Regions from separate parts of the Homo sapiens genome. Here all the other regions are linked to region 2. Evidence: promoter capture Hi-C in human tissues and cell types (Jung and others, 2019). All regions are on one chromosome and are shown on one strand. The core of a region is centred on a gene start or on the middle of the fragment in contact, and the rest is flanking DNA. Distances in the headings are between cores, read along the strand shown.

Region 1 (3,400 bases), core at 704-3,203, 210 kb before region 2:
TGTGAGCCACTGTGCCCAGCACAAATCCAGATCTTTCTTCATCCTGTTTAATTTTAATGGGGGTAGGGTGGGAAGTGAGGACTGCTATCCAACTATAAATTAAATTAGAAGAAAAATTATGAACAGGCTTAAATTCTACTGGTATGTACACCAGACAGCAGTTGATCATTGGGACCGGAGAAAGGCTAATTTACAAATAGTACAGCAAATACTAGAATGTCATGATTTTAAAGGCAAAAGTACCATTTTTAAAACGAATTTGTTGAATGTGAATTTACCTTCAACATTTTTCCTCTTAACTATTACTTTGGTAGTGGTGAACTGGCTCTGGAAATTGACTTCTTTTTCCTTTTTTTTTTTTTTTTTGAGACAGAGTCTCCCTCTGTCACCCAGGCTGGAGTGCAATGGCGCGATCTCGGCTCACTGCAACCTCCGCCTCCCTAGTTCAAGCGATTCTCCTGCCTTAGCCCCCTGAGTAGCTGGGACTACAGGGGCACGCCATCACGCCCCGCTAATTTTGACCCCTTTTCAATTATAAAATGCTAACGTTGGAAGCCTCTACAGATTACCAAATCCAACTGTTTAAAAATTCTTCTGGCCGAGCATGGTAGTTCACACCTGTAATCCTGGCACTTTGGGAGGCTGAGGAGGGTGGACCACCTGAGGTCAGGAGTTCAAGACCAGCTTGACCAATACGGCGAAACCCCGTCTCTACTAAAAATACAAAAAATTAGCTGGGCATGGTGGCGGGCACCTGTAATAATCCCAGCTACTTGGGAGGCTGAAGCAGAAGAATTGCTTGAACTTGGGAAAGGCGGAGGTTGCAGTGAGCCGAGATCGCGCCATTGCACTCCAGCCTGGCAACAGAGTGAGACTCCATCTCAAAAAAAAAATCTTCTTGGCCTCATAATCCTTTGTTTAGATAAACTTGAAAACCCAATATGTAAACACACAAGCAGAACTGCACTGATTGACAGATACTAAACGGATCTAAATGATACCAAGGATGACAGAAACATCCTCATTTTACAGATGGAGAAACTTGTAGGGTTTGTGCTTTCCTCCCATCAAACCTTACCCTTTATTGTAATTATTCCCGCACTTGCCCGTCTCAGTAGTACAAGCAGTTTGCCAACTACTACTTGCACGAACAACTAGCAGTTTGCCACGGAGTCCTACATTCAGTTTGGGGATTCTCAGGCCTCACAGGGCGCTAAGGCCTTGCCTGGCCCCTTGGTGATCAGAAGCTTCGTGCAGCTCAAGAGCATCCCAAGACGCTTGACGGCTGACTTTCCTTCTCAGAACTTTAGTAACAGGGCGGCCAGTCCAGCCTGGGAACCGCAGGGCCCGAGCCCGACTCTCCCGGAGACCCGGGATCCGCCGCAGAGCAAAGCGCACGGGAGGGAAGGAGGGCACACGGCTCTAGTGTCTGACCTCCTCCGGCTCGCCCTACTGATCTAGGTCCCGCGCCGGGTCCCCACATCCCCGCAACCCGCCGAGAGGCCCGGGAGCCGGGACCGCTCCCACGCTCTGGCCCCCCAAGCCCCGCCCCCCTTACCGGCGTCAGAGCGCGCGGCGGTGAAGGCCGCGGCGGGCCCGCGCGTGAGCCCGGTCGCCGCCCCGAGGAGCAGCCAGGCGGCCGCCCGAACCGCCGCCACCCGAGCCGCCAGGACGCCGGAAGCCGGACGCCCGAGAGGGGCGCGCGGGGCCAGGTGCGGACGCAGGAAGGGGCCTGGCCGCCCGCAGCTCCTACCGCGCGCTGCCCCAGATTTATCGGCTGGGACCGAGTGCTGGGTGCGCGCGCCTAGCGCCCGCGGTTCCCAGCTGCCTGCAGCCCCGGCCCCCAAGGGTTCCCGCGCGGCGTGGGGCGGTCGTCCCCGCCCAGCTGTTCCTTGCTCCGCCCACCCGGGGGCGGGCGAGGAGCTGCGCACGCGCGGGGACGCGCGCCCGGCCTGTCGCTGTGGAAACCGCTAGGCCAGCGCTCGCCGGGACCTGGAATCCCTGTACGCCGAGGTGGGAGCCGGTGGACCGGTCCCCCAGCCGGCCCCCACCTCCGCTTCCCGGTGTTTGAGGGTTCGGGCCTCCCGCCGGGGAGTTCACCCCTCGGGCTCGTCAGTAGGGCTGTGGCTGTCGCCTCTTCCTGCAGCGCCAGGCTCCGCCCGGTCTCACAGTCGGCTTAGGGGCTTTGCGTGCACTGCGGTTGGGTGGAAAAACCCACTCCTGGTTGTTTAGACGTTGGCCTGCAGACGATGTCATTTCTGTATTCCTCTAAGGGTAAGAAAGCCAGCCTTGCACTAGTGGAGACGTGAGTAGGGAGAGAATCGTCTACTCTTTGGGGACATTCGTACCCTTAGGTGCTGTGGGGCTTCCTAACAAGATTGTGGGCAGTTACTGATCTCTGGGGAGAGGAGTATTCGTGTCCAGGAAGAATAATTGGATAAACGTGCCGTCCTTCTTCCTAAACAGAGTGGAATCTGTAAGCAGGCCAAGAGAGCATCCAGGCGGCTTGGAGTGGAATAGAGGGCTCTAGAGCGGGTGTCTCAAAGAGGAAACAGAGTGTATGTCAAAACATACTATCCAAAACTGAAAATAGCCGGGCAGGTGGCTCACGCCTATAGCCCCAGCACTTTGGGCGAATCACCTGAGGTCAGGAGTTCGAGACCAGCCTGGCCAAGATGGCGAAACCCCGTCTCTACTGAAAATACAAAGATTAGCTGGGCATGGTGGTAGGCACCTGTAATTCCAGCTACTCGGGAGGCTGAGGCACGAGAATCGCTTGAACCCAGGAGGCGGAGGTTGCAGCGAGGGGAGATCACGCCACTGCACTGCAGCCTAGGCGACAGAGGGAGACTCTGTTTCAAAAGAAAAAAAAAAACTGAAAATGGTAGTATAAGCATGTTTCTTAAGAAATGGAGAGAGAAATTTTGGAAGATATGCCTTTTAAAATTCAGTCTGGCTCCCTATGAAGAGGAGTAGGGCCAAGGACGATAGTTTGTTGTTATAAGCCTCATAGAATTATTTTATATTCCAAATACAAACATTACTTTAGCAAAAATTAAAGTTAAATTTTAAAAAGAGTCTAGTAAAAAAAAAACTACATTATTTGAGTACCAACTGCATACATCTTTGACGAGTACAGCCATTGCTTCAGTGTGTGGAGTTTATATGTGCCCCGTAGGTTGTAGTTTACTAACATCAAATTTTAGTTAGGTGAATTGGGAATAGTATTCGTTAAAAAAAAAAAAAAAGCAAGAAAAGAGAAGGAAAAGAAGGAGAAATGGTGTGAGCTCATTGCATCAGATTAGAGGTAGAGCACAGTAATTTTTTAAAGTAGTTTTTTTTTTTTTTTTTTTTTTTTTTAAGAATAGGCGTATCATGCTTTGGAGAGGCTGTTGTGCAG
Region 2 (3,195 bases), core at 436-2,935:
ATAGTTGCATGTTTAAAAGAATAATGGGAGATTCGATGGGAAAAGCAGGTTGTGGACATATTAGGAAGCCTGAAGGCCAGGTGCAGTGGCTCACGCCTGTAATCCCAGCACTTTGGAAGGCCAAGGCCGGTGGATCACCTGAGGTCAGGAGTTCGAGACCAGCATGGCCAACATGGTGAAACCCCATCTCTACTAAGAATACAAAAATTTGCCAGGCGTGGTATTACAATGCACGTGGTATTACAAGGCACGCGCCTGTAATTGCAGCTACTCGGGAGGCTGAGGCATGAGAATCGCTTGAACCCAGGAGGTGGAGGTTGCAGTAAGCTGAGATCAAACCACTGCACTCCAACCTGGGCAACAGAATGAGGAGCCATCTCAAAAAAACAAACAAACGAACAAAAAACAAGCCTGAAATTCCAAGCTAAGGTACTGTTACTGTAGACAACCAGATGACAGTCCCAGGTTTCTTTTTTTTTTCTTTTTTTTGAGACAGGGTCTTGCCCTGTCACCCAGGCTGGGGTGCAGTGGTACGATCACTGTTCACTGCAGCCTTGACCTCCTGGGCTCAAGTGATCCTCCCACCTCAGCCACCAGAGTAGCTGAGAGTATAAGTGTGAGCCAGCACACCGAGTTAATTTTTTTATTTTTTGTAGAGACAGGGTCTCACTATGTTGCCCAGGCTGGACCTGAACTCCTGGGCTCCACTGATCTTCCCGCCTTGGCCTTCCAAAGTGCTGGGACTACAGGTGTGAGCTATCACAGACAATAACAGGTTTCTGAACCCACATTGAAATGAAAGTTCCCAAAGACTTCTACCAACGACCGATGTCTCCTCGTTGTTCTCAACCTGGAAACCATCCCCTACCCAGCCTGAATGCTCTCAGCAGCCTCAAAACAACTTAAAGGCTGCTTTCACGCACAGTGATTTTCTTTTCTCTTCCTTCACACTGATTGATTCCCTCAAAAAATGCAGGTCCGGAGCTGGCTATGGAGTTGCAAGCTCTAGACCCAGCTACTCCAGAGGCTGAGGCGAAAGAATCCCTGGAACCCTGGAGTTGTAGTCCAGCCTGGATAAAACAGTGAGACCCCAATTCTTTTATCTATTTATTTATTTGTATTTTTTGAGGTGGAATTTTGCTCTGTCCCCCAGGCTGGAGTGCAGTGGCACAATCTCGGCTCACTGCAGCCTCTGCCTCCCAGGTTTAGCGATTCTCCTGTCTCAGCCTCCTGAGTAGCTGGAATTGCAGGAGCTTGTCACAATGCCCAGCTAATTTTTGTATTTTTAGTAAGGACGGGGGTTTCACCATGTTGGCCAGGCTGGTCTTGAACTCCTGACCTCAGGTGATCCGCCCGCCTCGGCCTCCCGAAGTGCTGGGATTACAGGCGTGAGCCACCGCACCCGGCCTTGTTTGGCTGTTGATTTTGTTTTGAGGTTTCCCTTTTTCTACCCAGAAACCAAGAAACCAGGGGTGTCTGAGGCCTCGCAGAAATCTCAGGGAAAGGTCAGGCTCCACCCAGGCTGCACTAGGCGGGGCTGCGACGCCAGGGCGGGACCGTCTCCGGCTGGGAGGGAGGGCGGGCGGCGCGCAGACCCCGGAAGTCCCGCCCCGGGAACGTTCGCCCTTGGGCAGTTTTCTGGGTGGGAAGTGCGATTTTGGCGGGCGGTTGTGACGTTGCTAGCGCTTGTCCGGTGGCTGCTGCGCTGCCGCAACGAATAGGGTTTCTGGCTGCGTAGGAGGGACGGGGGCGCGGAGCTCTGGGAAACTGCGCCAGGCGCCCGAAAGGTGAACACGGGAGTCGCGCGTCTCCCCCGCAGCAGCGGTAAAGCGGAAGTTATGCTGCAGCCGGAGCCCGGGCTTCCTCCCGGAGCCGCGTCCCGGGGCCCGGCTGCCCCGAGCTGAGCGGAGCATCCTTTCCGGGTGAGGGGAGGAGAGGACTTGGCGCGTTCCCCTCGCTGCCCCGGGAGCCGCAGCCGCGGTGTTCATGCCGCGGAGCAGCCAGGCTCCTCCGACGAAAACCTGCATTTATTTGCTGGCGGGACGTTTGCCTTGAAAATGGACAAAGACGCCGCCCTCCGGGGTATTCCTGTTTGCCTGACCCTGAGAGCGCCTTTTTGCTTCAAGACGTGTTGGATGCTCCTGTTCTCCGAATTCTGATACGCTTCTGGGCATAATACTGAAACACAAAACTGCTTTTGCTCTCTCTGTGGTTGGCCGAAAATAGGATTCTTTTTCGTGCAGGTGTCGTTGTTTAGTCGGCTTTACTAACATATTGAAATGGCTCTACCCAAAGACGCCATCCCCTCGCTGTCCGAGTGCCAGTGCGGGATCTGCATGGAAATCCTCGTGGAGCCCGTCACCCTCCCGTGTAACCACACGCTGTGTAAACCGTGCTTCCAGTCGACCGTCGAAAAGGCGAGTTTATGCTGTCCCTTCTGTCGCCGCCGGGTATCGTCGTGGACTCGGTACCATACCCGAAGAAATTCTCTCGTCAACGTGGAACTGTGGACGATAATTCAAAAACACTATCCCAGGGAGTGCAAGCTTAGAGCGTCTGGCCAAGAATCAGAGGAAGTGGGTGAGTAAACCATGGCGTGTTTGTTGGCCAAAAGCCGCAAGTCTTTGAAAAGGTGAATCATCACTTTTCCATTTAAAAAGTAAAAACAAACCAAAAAACCCGACTAGTATTTGTCTAAATAGTTCTCAGAGGTTAGGGGGTTTATGGGTCCCCAAATGTCGATGGATTATAAAGTCAAGGGCAAGATTTTGTCCATTGTCAAAATGCCCGCGCTGTGTTCGATGGGTGTTTGTTGTGTTAAAAATTAAAGAATTGCCCGTCTGGAGCCTTCTTTTTTTTTTTTTTGAGACAGGATCTCGCTCCGTCCTCCAGGCTGGAGTGCAGTGGCGCGATCTCGGCTCCCTGCAACCTCCGCCTCCCGGTTTCAAGCGATTCTCCTGCCTCAGCCTCCCGAGTAGCTGGGGTTACACGCGTGCACCATCACGCCCGGGGAATTTTTCTGTTTTTTAGTAGAGACGGGATTTCACCATGTTGGCCAGGCTGATCTCAAACTCCTGACCTCAAGGGATCCGCCCGCCTCGGCCTGCCAAAATGCTGGGATTACAGGCTTGAGCCACCGCGCCCGGCCTCTGATTTACTTATCTATACATCTCCATTCATTTAATTCTTGATTCT
Region 3 (3,093 bases), core at 194-2,693, 190 kb before region 2:
ACGCCTGTAATTCCAGCACTTTGGGAGGCCGAGGCCAGCGGCTCACGAGGTCAGGAGATGGAGACCATCCTGGCTAACACGGTGAAACCCCGTCTCTACTAAAAATACAAAAAATTAACTGGGCATGGTGGAAGTCAAGGAAGAAAAAATATTTCATCCTGATAAAGCCACTGTATCCAAATATCAGGGTCTTACATCCAAGACAACTGCATGAGCAAGCACATTTTATAGCATTATATGCTCAATAAGCTTTATTTTTAAAATCCAGCTTTAACTGTTTTTCATTTTCTTGGTCCATTCCTATGCCTGGCCCCACTTTCTTCAAAAGGTGGATGAGGTGTCACCCTAGGGAGAAGGAACCAGGAGTGAGTTTTTCTTCTGCTCTCGCTCCCGTGGTTCAAGCCTTTCATCCGGTGCTGAGCCTAACTCTTCCCTTAGGACTGCTGGGTGGGGCTTAAATGGCTGTGTGTGTAGAACATCTCCCTGCTCAGTCATCAGCCGAAAAGACCCTCAGAAATCAGGATACATTCATCTTTGTTCCTTTCCCCAGTTTTCTCATTTGTAAAATGGGACGTTAATACCTGTTTCCACTGGGCCAGCGTAAGGAGGAAGTTAGATACCATATGCATAGTACAGCATCTGTCATGGAGTAAGTGTTCAATATGTGAAAGTTTTTTTAAAAAGTCTTTTGCCAGCCGGGCGTGGTGGCTCATGCCTATAATCCCAGCACTATGGGAGGCCGAGGTGGGTGGATCACTAGGTCAGGAGATGGAGACCATCCTGGCCAACATGGTGGAACCCCGTCTCTACTAAAAATACAAAATTAGCCAGGCGTGGTGGTGCACGCCTGCAATCCTGGATACTCGGGAGGCTGAGGCAGGAGAATTGCTTGAACCCAGGAGGCGGAGGTTGCAGTGAGCTGAGACTGCACCACTGCACTCCAGCCTGGGCAACAAGAGCAAAACTCCATCTCAAAAAAAAAAAAAGAAAAGGAAAAGATCTGTATTTTATAATATTTTGAGTGACTGGACTAACACCTACAGGACAAGATATTATGGAGACACAAGTAAAGTCCATGACTTGCATTAAGAAATGCCAACTGCAAGAGCACAGGACAGGAAACAGTTAACCTAAAAACAACGTGAAACAGACAGAGGGCATCCAATTGGCAGCAGTCGCAGTATGAACACTCTGTGGACTGGCTGCCCAGAAAGCTAATGTAAGCCTACGCTACATTAATTGAGGGTTAGTGCTCAGATGGGGGAAAGGTCCTGATCAGATCCTGTCTGGAGCCATGTTTTCTTCCAGGAGCCTCATTTTAAAAGATGTTGACAAACTGGAGTGTGTCCCACAGAGAGTGACCATGTCACATGAGAATCCTTTGCAAGAAGTGATGAGATTTTTGCCTGGAAAAGGCAAAAGTTAAAAGATTGCTCTTAAAGCTCTTTAGTTCTTTACAGATCTTTCACGTAGAAGAATATATTACTACTTCTAGAGGGAAAAACTAGGCACAGTGATTGGAAATTTAGGGAGCAGCTCTCACCTCAAGAAAAGACAGAACTTTCTGGCCAGGCGCGGTGGCTCACGCCTGTAATCTCAGCACTTTGGGAGGCCAAGGAGGGTGGATCACTTGAGGTCAGGAGTTCGAGACTAGCCTGGCCAACATGGTGAAACCCCGTCTCTACTAAAAATCCAAAAATTAGCTGGGCGTGGTTGTGTGCACCTGTAATTCCAGTTACTCGGGAGGCTGAGGCAGGAGAATCACTTGAACCCAGGAGACAGAGGTTGCAGCAAGCCCAGATCACGCCATTGCACACTCTAGCCTGGGGGAAAAGCATAAAACTCCGCCTCAGAAAAAAAAAAAAAAAGAAGAAGAAGAAAAAAGAAAAGACAGAACTCTCTGAAGATCAAAACCGCCAGCAACGGGAAGGGTGACTTTGTGAAGCAGTGACCCCGCTGTCCCTACAGCAGCCCAGCAAGGCACCAGAGAGGTTAACCATTGGCGTTTTTCAAGCTGCCTTCTGTGGAGCAGCATCCTGGGGAGCTAGGGTTGGGGTCGGGTGTAAAAGTGGTCATTGTTCTGAGTGATAAAAAGAATAAGGAGGTGGGAACTGGACTCCTAATTTATCCACAGCAGCTCAATTCTTACATGTTGAAGTTTTTCCCATTTCAGAGTTCTACTTGAGATCTTCATTAAGGGTTCTGCTATGAAAATCAAACCTGCAAACCACCAGAGATGATGGCTTTCTTCGCTATCTCTTTTCTTTTTTGAGATGGAGTCTCGCTCTGTCACCCAGGCTGGAGTGCAATGGCGTGATCTTGGCTTACTGCATCCTCTGCCTCCCGGGTTCAAGCGATTCTCCTGCCTCAGCCTCCCGAGTAGCTGGGATTACAGGTGTGCGCCACCAAGTCTGGCTAATTTTTGTATTTTTAGAAGAGACAGAGTCTCACCACCTTGGCCAGGCTGGTCTTGAACTCCTGACCTCAGGTGATCTGCCCACCTCGGCCTCCCGAAGTGCTGGGATTACAGGTGTGAGCCACCGTGCCCGGCCTCTCCACCGTCTCTGGTGGACACAACACCCCGTCTCTTAGGTGCCTGATTCTCAGACAGGACTCAGGAGCAGAGACCAGATAAATCTCAGATTTGTCTGAGCTTATTTACTTCTGGAGTTTTCTAAATAGCTCTCTCTCTTCCCTGGGGTGGGTTGCTTTTTTTTTTTTTAAGGCAGTTTTTTCAATCTTTTGGGTAGTAGCTCTTGAGTCTGTAAAGCCTGGTAATTTTCTAGAGGTAATTGGCATTAACCATCAAGACTCTCCTCACATGCTCCCTTCCCACTCTGGCACCCTCCTCCCACAGGCCTTCCTCCCGTCCTGCTGCCTCCATCAGTCTCTTCCTCTGGCAGCCAAGGGTTGCCTCTCCAAGTGGTCCCAGGAGAGAAATCCTAGGGCCACGTATCAGTCAGAACACTAGTCCTGGACACCTGTGTTTCTCCTGCCCGCAGGCAGACCCTTCGGGAGACACTTGACCAGCGCAGGCCCTTGGGGGGCAGCTCGCCAGGTAGGACCCCTCCCTGCCAGCTGGGGTTTCCCAGC
Region 4 (3,232 bases), core at 717-3,216, 150 kb before region 2:
TCAAGCCACCCTCACATCTCAGCCTCCCAAGTAGCTGGGACTATAGGTGTGTGCCACCGCACCTGACTGATTCTTGTATTTTGTAGAGATGTGGTTTCATCATGTTGCCCAGGCTAGTCTCCAACTCCTGGGCTCAAGTGATCTGCCTGCCTCGGCCTCCTAAAGTGCTGGGATTACAGGCCTGAGCCACTGCACCCGGCCTGAATCATCCAGATTTTTAACAAGTTGTTCTTGTTCCGGGAGGATGCCCTAGGCTGGTCTCGGATGCCTCCTATCCTCAGCAGGCGTGAGAACGGCGGGGCAGGGACTGCCTGGCTCTTCCCAGGAAGCATCTTAAAATCCTGTGGTTAAAGGGCAGCTGCACATGCCCCTGTGCTAGGCAGGCACAGAGTGATGCAGGCTCCTTCATTCTCTGCCCTTCCTGATGGACAATCTGTCAGCTTTCCAAATGGACCAAGCCTTGTCAGGACAGGAGCAGCCGACAGATCAGGGTTCAAGGGAAACTCACCAACTTGCAGACTCCTTGGGAGGCTGCTGTGGCTGTTCCGCTTCTGTTCCTCCAGCCCACGGTCAGGAAGTGAAAACCCAGGCAGAGCCAAAGAGGCAGCAACTCCATCTCAAGGGCAGCCCTGTGGACAGAGAGCAGGGAAGAGGTAAGTCAGAGAAGGACATCCCAGAGGGCTGTTTGTATTATCGGCAGAAGGAGCCAGTTCCAATTCTATGTGGTCTTGGAGCTCTGTGGAGCTCCATAGAGGTGCAGCCCACAGGATACTCAGATACCTCCATTTAGCCAAGACTTCCGGCCTTTCACTGAAACTGTTGACAAGAACTCAATTTCATTTTGCCTCTACCACTTGATGGACGGGTGGCTGAACACTAAACTTCAGCGAGTCCAGCACAGAAGGGAGAAGCAAAAAGCTTGAGTAACCAGGCCTCCAGTCACCTGGAGTTTCCCATATTTTGTAATTCTGCTGAAGTTTTCCTGCCTCCAGCTCCAATCGGTCTGATGCATCCCCTGAGCTCAGTAAGTACTTGCTGAGTGAATGAATGAACAACTGGAGAGTGGACGGAGACGGAAACACGGATGGGGGCCTCTGTCCCAGAGTTACTCCTCAGCTGCTGATGTGGGGCTGTTACAAAAGCGTTGATCTCTTTGGTTCACTCATTTGACTATGACCCTTTGAAAAAAGAGGTTTGATATTTTGCTTGGACGGGGGAAACACGGAGGGAAAATGAAGAAGCAATCTTTGGGTAGAATAAAGGTGGTTAACGAAACGTGGTTGCCAGCCCGCTTGCCTGGCCAGTGCACAGAGAACAGCAATAATGAGAAGGCTTGAAGGTATACACGCACCAGCAGAGATTCAGAACTAAGGGGAGCCATAAGGGAAATGCAATATACTCATCACATTTGCCAGGTGAACAAAGGCCCAGAGATACTACTCGAGGTTGTGGATGAACTTAGTGGCAGGGCTAAGAGCAGCCCCGCCTCGCTCCCCGAGCTCCGATGAGTGAGCAGGGCAGTTTCTCCCAGCAGCGAGGCTGCACTCACTGCTGCCCTGCTGGGGACCTGACGCCCAGTGCATGCCCCCAGCTCTGCATTCTGCAGACCCAGAGGCAAGAGCTGGCCCCAGCATTCCATCTGCCCATTCCTTGACACCTACCGGAGGCCCAGTGTCTGCCCTCCCATCTTCTCCTGGGCCAGCGGCACCAGCTCACCCCACCTGCTCGCTCCAGCCACTCAGGGGCCTCCTCTTTCCTTTCTTCAAATGCATTTAGGGATCTTGAAAGCTCATTTTACCTTCTTGATCAGATTTGAATGCTCACCAGTGCAAACAGACTAATTGAAGAGCTCAATGAAACCGGGTAAGCCAGCTTTCACTTCAGGCCAGGCCAACTCCCCTTACTACAGAGAGAACCTCCAATGCAGAATTTACCAGAACTTGCCAGACACTGGGAATCCCCTTCCAGACCCATTTCTGCCTCTGCACCCACACAGGAGTCATTGCCTTGTGGCCGGCACAGGGAAGAGAGGGCAGAAGCAGAGGTGTACGGGTTCCTGACCTCAGGATCCCCCCAGCACCCTTCCCCGCCCCTGAAACCTGGGATCACCACCACTGCCCGCCATGAAATAAGGCTGCATAGTTGCAGATTTAGTAAATTACAAGGCATCATTTCAATGCTAGATACATCCTTATACTAACAAATTGTTTATCTGACATTCAAACTTCACTGGGCATCCTGAATTTTACTGAGGGGAGATGGGGAGGTAAGAACCCTCCCTTCCTCCCTGGCCACCTCTTGTCAGGTGTGGGGTGGTACCTGCTGCTGTGACTCCAGTCTCTCTGGAAGAGCCAGCCCTGCGTATCGAAGAACTGAATCTAGACGTGTAAGGGGCAAGAGTGCAGGTCCCTCAGCGAAAAGGCAACCTTCAGACTGGAAGGCAAGCCAGGCCTTGTGTCACACTCAGGAGGGGCATTTTAATTTATGGGTCATCAAGAATTTTGCAAGTTTAAAACATATCCTCTCCTTCCTCCTAAACTCAGCCAACCAGCCCAGAAAAAAACTCTTGTTGTGGCCCTGGCAGGAAGCAGCAGGATATCATGGGAAGATCATGGAATTTGGAACCAAGCAGACCAGAGTTTGAATTCTGCCTCTGTTATTTGTTATTTGTCCTTTAGGAATTCAGACAAAGTCTCCAAGACTCAGAGAATCCGTCTACAAAATGGGAGTAATAATAACTATTCCAGAGTTGCATGAGAATAACCAGTCTCATGAATGTGAAAGGGCTTCATGGCTGTAAAGGTAGCAAGTAACACAATTATTAATTATTACTTGTGAGTTCCAAACACCAGTGAGTTGACTGAGTGCTGGTTATTCCTGTGTAATCTCCAAGGTAGTTCAACAGCTACACAAAGTCTAAAATAAAGGCCTGAGTAATGTGGCTGGAAGGATGAATTATACCAACTAGATATGTAAAACATATGCAGGAAGGTTCAATTAAAAACTCTGCATTCATAAATTGCAGAGCAAGGCTAGCCCTGAGCACAGATGACTATGCTGGCTGACAGCGGTTTGTCCCCAGAGCTGCGCCTTCCCCTTCCCTGCCCTCCTCAGTGTGGCAGGGCTCTGACTTCTGAAGGTTCTGAATCTCAAACTCTGCTGTCACCTGGCCTCAAACTGCTGTCACCTGTCACAAACTCTGCTGGTTTAGTCAATGGAAGACACTCCTCCT

Evidence for each region. The method cuts DNA at HindIII sites, captures the fragments that hold promoters and counts their contacts. A contact is called where the count stands out against the background at its distance.
Region 1: the fragment with the promoter of CEP19 here is called in contact with the fragment with the promoter of RNF168 in region 2 in 1 of the 25 tissues and cell types used here (ovary).
Region 3: a contact is called between a fragment that was not itself captured here and the fragment with the promoter of RNF168 in region 2, in 6 of the 25 tissues and cell types used here (IMR-90 fibroblasts, aorta, dorsolateral prefrontal cortex and 3 more).
Region 4: a fragment that was not itself captured here is called in contact with the fragment with the promoter of RNF168 in region 2 in 1 of the 25 tissues and cell types used here (mesenchymal stem cells).

The regions. Positions count from the first base shown.
Region 1 is chr3:196,710,803-196,714,202 of GRCh38, reverse strand. It overlaps CEP19 (centrosomal protein 19), which reads left to right and starts at 1,953. Exons shown (of 3, transcript NM_032898.5): 1 at 1,953-2,274. PIGX (phosphatidylinositol glycan anchor biosynthesis class X) reads right to left here and starts at 1,826. Exons shown (of 6, transcript NM_017861.4): 1 at 1,559-1,826. The coding sequence starts at 1,670. RefSeq lists silencers at 1,427-2,056, 1,891-2,203. The HindIII fragment of the contact is 13,108 bases long and covers 1-3,400 here.
Region 2 is chr3:196,502,258-196,505,452 of GRCh38, reverse strand. RNF168 (ring finger protein 168) reads left to right here and starts at 1,685. Exons shown (of 6, transcript NM_152617.4): 1 at 1,685-2,580. The coding sequence starts at 2,280. It overlaps LOC105374307 (a long non-coding RNA gene), which reads right to left and starts at 101. Exons shown (of 3, transcript XR_924897.3): 1 at 1-101. RefSeq lists a silencer at 1,436-1,735 and enhancers at 2,356-2,445, 2,486-2,555, 2,207-2,890, 2,891-3,195. The HindIII fragment of the contact is 9,103 bases long and covers 1-3,028 here.
Region 3 is chr3:196,690,403-196,693,495 of GRCh38, reverse strand. No RefSeq gene overlaps it. Among named protein-coding and RNA genes, the nearest start is that of CEP19, 20 kb to the left of the region's middle. The HindIII fragment of the contact is 6,798 bases long and covers 1-3,093 here.
Region 4 is chr3:196,651,924-196,655,155 of GRCh38, reverse strand. It overlaps NRROS (negative regulator of reactive oxygen species), which reads right to left. Exons shown (of 3, transcript NM_198565.3): 2 at 509-629. The coding sequence starts at 616. Among named protein-coding and RNA genes, the nearest start is that of NRROS, 14 kb to the right of the region's middle. The HindIII fragment of the contact is 5,100 bases long and covers 1-3,232 here.